2 separate regions of the Homo sapiens genome follow, and region 2 is linked to region 1. Evidence: promoter capture Hi-C in 16 types of primary human blood cells and fetal thymus (Javierre and others, 2016). All regions are on one chromosome and are shown on one strand. The core of a region is centred on a gene start or on the middle of the fragment in contact, and the rest is flanking DNA. Distances in the headings are between cores, read along the strand shown.

What was found. The method cuts DNA at HindIII sites, captures the fragments that hold promoters and counts their contacts. A CHiCAGO score of 5 or more calls a contact.
Region 2: a contact is called between the fragment with the promoter of YPEL5 here and the fragment with the promoter of YIPF4 in region 1, in 6 of 17 cell types (total B cells, non-activated CD4 T cells, total CD4 T cells and 3 more). The highest score is 13.6, in total B cells.

The regions. Positions count from the first base shown.
Region 1 is chr2:32,276,256-32,279,673 of GRCh38, reverse strand. YIPF4 (Yip1 domain family member 4) reads right to left here and starts at 1,770. Exons shown (of 6, transcript NM_032312.4): 1 at 1,440-1,770. The coding sequence starts at 1,518. RefSeq lists a silencer at 1,563-1,672 and an enhancer at 1,910-2,655. The HindIII fragment of the contact is 1,217 bases long and covers 1,142-2,358 here.
Region 2 is chr2:30,145,625-30,148,778 of GRCh38, reverse strand. It overlaps YPEL5 (yippee like 5), which reads right to left and starts at 1,772. Exons shown (of 3, transcript NM_016061.3): 1 at 1,717-1,772. RefSeq lists silencers at 659-1,098, 1,389-1,558, 1,589-2,168. The HindIII fragment of the contact is 10,963 bases long and covers 196-3,154 here.

The DNA.
Region 1 (3,418 bases), core at 521-3,020:
ACTTTGGGAGGCCGAGGCGGACGGATCACGAGGTCAGGAGATCGAGACCATCCTGGCTAACACTATGAAACCCCGTCTCTACTAAAAAAAAATACAAAAAAAAAAAAAATTAGCCGGGCGTGGTGGCGGGCGCCTGTAGTCCCAGCTACACGGGAGGCTGAGGCCAGAGAATGGCGTGAACCCGGGAGGCAGAGCTCGCAGTGAGCCGAGATGGCATCACTGCACTCCAGCCTGGGCGACAGAGCGAGACTCAGTCTCAAAAAAAAAAAAAAAAAAAAAGGAAAATCTAGGTTCTTTCTCAGACTGAAATTTCTGTAAACATAATTTATGATTTCATAGCAGCCAGTAAGTCTGGTCACTGGAAAATAACTGGTGCACGAAGTGTAATAAAAATTTGAAAATGGCCGGGGCGCGGTGGCTCACGCCGGTAATCCCAGCACTTTGGGAGGCCGAGGCGGGCGGATCACGAGGTCAGGAGATCGAGAGACCATCATGGCTAACACGGTGAAACCTCATCTCTACTAAAAATACAAAAAAAATTAGTCGGGGGTGGTGGCGGGTGCCTGTAGCCCCAGCTACTCGGGAGGCTGAGGCAGGAGAATGGCGTGAACCCGGGAGGCGGAGCTTGCAGTGAGCCGAGATCGCGCCACTGCACTCCAGCCTGGGCGACAGAGCTCAAGAAAAAAAAAAAAATTGAAAATGACTAGCAGAATAATATCCAGGTTATGAGTTGGATAGGGAACTGAGAATAGGAGGGAAACATTCTCCTGTGCTGTAGGAAAATATCTCCAGCACAATCGCTTCCTCAGAATAATACAAGGAAATCTGTAGAGGCTACTGGAAACACATTGTTGGTTTACACTAAACTTCCAATATACCTGCGTCAATTTCTCTGAATACTGAGGTGAAACATTACAAAATGCGAGGAAAACGGGGACTCGGGCAAGACATCAAATTCAATAAAAACCATTTAGTTTGTATTTGCAGTGCCGAATCTGATCCCAGACCCCCCCCAAAAAATTATCTGTTGATACATAACAGAAGAAAACAGCCCTCCTTCCTTTTTCTCATTCTTTGAGATCTCCCTTGGCCAATCTGTCCTTTTTCTGAGTAAGGGCGAGTAATTCCAGAACTAAAAGCTTAGGATTTTGTGGGTCCAATTGAAGAGACTAAGCCACCCAGAAAAACCAGCCACCAGACGGTATGGGGAAAACCAAGGGCTGACCGAGTAACTTGATGCTTTAAAAAGCAGCTCCCTACACCCCTCCCTCCGTCCTTCGGGGCCTCTCGGAAGGCCCGGCAGGCGTGGTGGGCTGCAGTCACCAGTCAGCTTCCTGCCTGTCCCCACCCGGCCACGACCACCTCGGCACCAGAAAGACCCTACGGCGTCGGGCCCTGGCTTCCTCCGGGTGATAGCCCTTCCAGGGGCTCAGCCTCACCTTCCGCGTCTGCTGAGGAGACAAAGGTGAAGTCCCCGTTAGTGGGGGCATAGGCCGGGGGCGGGCCCGGAGGCTGCATCTCGCGGCGACTCCCAACCGGCCGCGGTAGAAGAGGCTGCGGCTGGGCCCAGACCCCGAGGCGGCCGCGGCGGCGACCCGCACGCTCGCCCTACGGTGCGGCCTACGAGTCTCGACGTGCAAGCTGCGAGCGAGGCCAGAAACGGGCACAGCGGGCCGCTGAGCTGCCCCGAGACTACCCCACCAAAGTCTTCTTGGTGGCGACCACCCAAGCACCACGACGCCGGCACCCTGACAGGACCATAACAGTGACAGCGGCGCTGGGATTGGCTCTTTGTAATGTGCTCTCCCATTGGCTCCCGGAGGAAGATTCTGATTGGGTCTTCCTGTTGTTGATTCCGGAAGTTTACCCAGGACAGGAAGTTCACTTGTAATTCGTGGAAATCTCAGGCCTCTTTTTCCTCCTTGGGTGCTTTTGTTCCTTTAAGTGCGATCTTTCCTGGCGTTTTGTTTACCTATTACCTCCGTTTTTGTTAAGTGGGTGGGTTAAAGAATTTTAGAACTAGGTAGATTTTATGGGTCAGCCGCCGTACAGGATCTCAAGATTCCCTTGCCATTAGCCATTAATTAATAGTGTAGGATCTTGACTAAGTTATATGTAATGTCTGGATGGCAGTTTCCTCACCTGTAAGATGAAGAGGGATGGATCGGAGAATGAAGATAAAAGGCAGAGAAGCCGTAAATCGCCACCCAGAGACTAGGGCTGTAGATACATTCCTTTATGAGGGAGAAAACTGAGGCCAGAGAAAGTAAGGTAGAAACAGATTTAGGACAGTACCTAAATCTCCTAATTTCTAGTCAAGTGCTCTTTTCACTGGAAGGCCCTGTCTACTGATAAGCTTGCCGAAGTTAACAAACTCACCTGCTTTTAAATGTTTACATACGTAACTTTAATATTCAAGCTACATAAATGTGGCTTCCAACTTGAAGAAAGAGGGGTTGGGGTATATTAGGAGGCCAACTTGGAGAAATACACAATTGATCAGCAATAGAGCAATCGAGAGACATGTCTATTAGTGTGTTAAATGGTATTTCTGGAAAATTTTCTCACAGGAGGTAACATGTTGGTACTTAAAGGATGAGTAAATGTAGTGGTTTTGTTTGTTTTAGAGACAAGGTCGCTCCGTTACCCAGGCTGGAGTGCAGTGGTGCAGTAATAGCTCCTTGTAACCTCACACTCCTGGGCTCAGGCAGTCCTCCCAACTCAGCTATCTAAGTAGCTGGGACTACAAGCCCCCTGCCACCATGTTTGGCTAATATTTATTTATTTATTTATTTATTTTTGAGACGGAGTCTCATTCTGTCGACAGGATGGAGTGCAGTGGCGCGATCTCGGCTCACTGCAACCTCCGCCTCCAGGGTTCAAGCGATTCTCCTGCCTCAGCCTCCCGAGTAGCTGGGACTACAGGTGCCTGCCACCACGCCTGGGTAATTTTTTGTATTTTTAGCAGAGACGGGGTTTCACCATGTTAGTCAGGATGGTCTCGATCTCCTGACCTTGTGGTCTGCCTGCCTTGGCCTCCCAAAATGCTGAGATTACCGGCGTGAGCCACTGCACCCAGCCCGAATATAACCATTTTTTAAAACATGCCAATTTGATGGGTGATTGTGGGGAAAAGAAAGAGAGATCAGATTGTTACTGTGTCTGTGTAGGAAGAAGTAGACATAGGAGACTCCATTTTGTTCTGTACTAAGACAAATTCTTCTGCCTTGAGATGCTGTTAATCTATAACCTTAGCCCCAAACCCGAACTCTCTGAAACATGTGCTGTGTCAACTCACGGTTAAATGGATTAAGGGCTGTGCTAGATGTGCTTTGTTAAACAGATGCTGGAAGGCGGCATGCTCCTTAAGAGTCATCACCACTCCCTAATCTCAAGTACCCAGGGACACAAACACTGC
Region 2 (3,154 bases), core at 523-3,022, 2.1 Mb after region 1:
CACTTTTTTCTAAACCTGTTTATTTTTCTCATTACTTAAATAGAAAACAGAAAAGGGAAATTAGTCTAGAGAAAAGTTCGCAATGATCCAACCAGGTAACATTATTTTCCAAGCTACATATATTTTACTAACGTCTCATAACTTGCTAAAATTATTGCTCGACTTTGTCCACGACTTTTGATTAAGTTATAAGCTTCTAGAGAAACTATTCTAAATTCTTTGTACTTTACTTCTTACCTAACCCAGTACAAGTATGCGATAAACTTTCAGGAAACGAATTCACCAAAGCACTTCACTTCTGGCATGAATATGTACCCTGGGAACACCACAGGCCTTTTGGTTCCTCTTTGGTGGAATGCAGCTGCGACGCTCTATATGTGGCTATGCAAAGTTAGCTAATATCCTACTCCTCCCAGTTTCTTCACCACCAAGTCTACTAATTTTCCAAAAACACAAGGTTAGCCCGAAGTTACTTCAGGTTTTCCATCTGTCAAGACGACGTAGAATAAAAATCCTCAGATTACCAACAGATCTCTGTAAACAGAAAAAGTTTAAAAATAAATGAGCTGTACAGCTTCCCAGACTCTCCCTTGAAAGGGAGATTAGTTGGTATCAGGATTAAACAGATCTTTGTAGTATTTCAATTTCCCACTCCCGCTGATCCGGACACTCATTTGTCCCATCTACCTGCAGAGAAGGTACAGGAAAGGGGTTGCAAGGGCACGCCCACCCTCCCGACTGCAAGCGGAGGGAAGGCCGCAGCCCGAAGCTGGCGGAGCTGGGCCGGCCCGGGCGACCCCCGGGTGGGCTCACCCGGCAGCCGCAGTGGGGCCCGCGAGCGCCCCCGCCGGCCCAGCTGATGGAGGCCACGTGACGCCAGCCGGCCAATCGGGAGGGACCGGGGCGGCAGAGCGCGGCGGCGGCGGTGGCGGCGGGGCCTCCCTCGGCACAACAAACACGAGCAGGAAACAGCTGAGCGGGTGGCCGGGGGGCTCTCTTGGTCCCGACACCCGGCGGGCTGCCCAACCGTCACCCTGCGCTGTCAGTCCCGGGTCCTCTGGGCAGGAGGGCGGGGGAGGCGGACGTTCATGGGGGGGAGGGGGCAAAGGGAGACACCGCCCCAGCCCGGTGGCTGGGCCGCTTGGGCCGGGCGTGGGCCCTGCTCAGGACGGTTCACGCCGTGCGGTCATCGCGGCCCAAACAACTCGGTCAAGTTCCGACTTGGATTCGGGGCGGAGACCGGGCGCGCCCCCGACTATGCGACGGGTGGGGGCGGGGCAGCCGCGGCGCGGCGCGGCGGGTTGGGGGTCGCGGCCAGACCGTCCGCCCAGGGGGCGCCGTGGGCCTCGGCGGCGGGCCTCGGAGGACGCGACGGGGAAACGGGGCGGAGGCGCGGGCGCCGCGCGGAGGGGTTGCGGCTGTTGTCGCACCGGTCGCCCGGCTGCGCGGCGGGGGCGGGCCGACGGCGGCCGCCGCGCCAGGCCTCACAAAGAGCAAACAGCCCCGCGCGTCCGCCCGCGGTCCCAGCGCCGGGGCCCACCCTGAAGGATCTGGGGCGGCCGCTCTGGGACCCCGGGAAGAGCGCGGCGAGGAAGAGGCACTTCCTGCCTGGGCCCCCCACCCTGGGCCGATTCCCGAGTGCCTCGAAGCCGCCCGACCCGAACGGGCGCCTCAGTCCCCACCGGCCCCGAGTCCAGCCCCTCCCGCGGGACTCACCCTGAGCGGCGGTGAGATCCGCGGCTGCCAGCGGCTTGTCGCTCTTCAGCTGGTATGAAGCCCCTCGGCCACCCGAGTCTCCAGGTTTAGTCAGGCCCTGGCCTTGGCCCCGCCTCTCCCTGGTTGGGCCTCAACGTCAGTCACCCGGCGTGGCTCCGCCCCCCCGCAGTCAGCTCTCCCGGTTGGCCCAGAACGCCCTTTATTTCTAGGCCCCGCCCCTGTCCTCGGCCTCCTGCCTTTTTCGCGGGGCCCCGCCCCTTCTCTGGCTCACCCTCCCCCACTCCCGCACCCCTCCGCTTCGCGGCCCACCCCTCTCAGAAGCCGCAGACCCAGGGCAGGCTTGCGACAGCTCGCCCCGCCCCTGACCCAGCACCTCGGACTCGTACAGCCAATCAAAGAGGCTAACTCTGCCCCTTCTCTCGAGGCGGCCAATGTAGTCAGTCTGGGGACCCACCTCCCCCTTTCAGCTGAGCGCACACAACACAGCATCCACGTGAGTCAGCTTCTTAAAGGCGAAGGCTTGGCCTGTCTAATTGCGGCAGCTGCGAGACATCGCACGTCATTAGCGTCACCAGGTAGCGGCTGGAGCCGAGCTTCCTGATACCTAGTGAGCCGCGGTGATGACAAATGAAAACAATAAGCTGTTTCCTAGACAAACAGCTGCCTAGGTAACTAAAGTGCACCGTGTAATTCGTTTCTTGGAGGCCGTTTCCCCGACCACCCCTGGTAGAGGGCTGCCTTTTGCTTTCAAACCCCTAGCCCTCGAGTCTAAGCGCATAGGCACTCCTAAGAAACATCTGTGGATACAGGATTTTTCAACTGCGCTTGACTTTATTTACAACTCATTTGAATGTTTTTTCTGGGTAGTGGAAATGATTCTCAAAAAGATGAAGAAATTCAGTCTTCTATATGGCGAATTTCTGCCTCAGAGAGTGAGATTTGTTCATTGCAAAGAGCAGCTGTTCCCTTAACCCTTATCAATGCTTAAGATGGAAGATGTTGCTTCTCATTCCATTAGAGTTGCCCAGGTACTTACATCTCTGTTAGCTGACTTTCGGGATAAAACCAAAATATTTGATGACGCATACCTCTCAGATTAAAAATGTAGGTTAGCATTTGGGGCTAGTTTGCAACATGTTTAAAGTCATTATTGGTGGAAGAGAAGCTGCTAAGCAAATTCTAGCACTTGACTCCCGCTCATCCCCAAATCCACAAGTATTTTCATTTAGTTCGTCTGAAGTTTACCTGAGCATCAAAGGCAAAAGGACTAGTTATCTTTTAATAAGTGAGTTTTCCAGGAGATAAGTTTTTTTGTTTGTTTGTTTCAGACGGAGTCTTGCTCTGTCGCCCAGGCTCGAGTGCAGTGGCATGATCTTGGCTCACTGCAACCTCCGCCTCCCGGGTTCAAGCAATTCTCCTGCCTCTGCCTCCTGAGTAG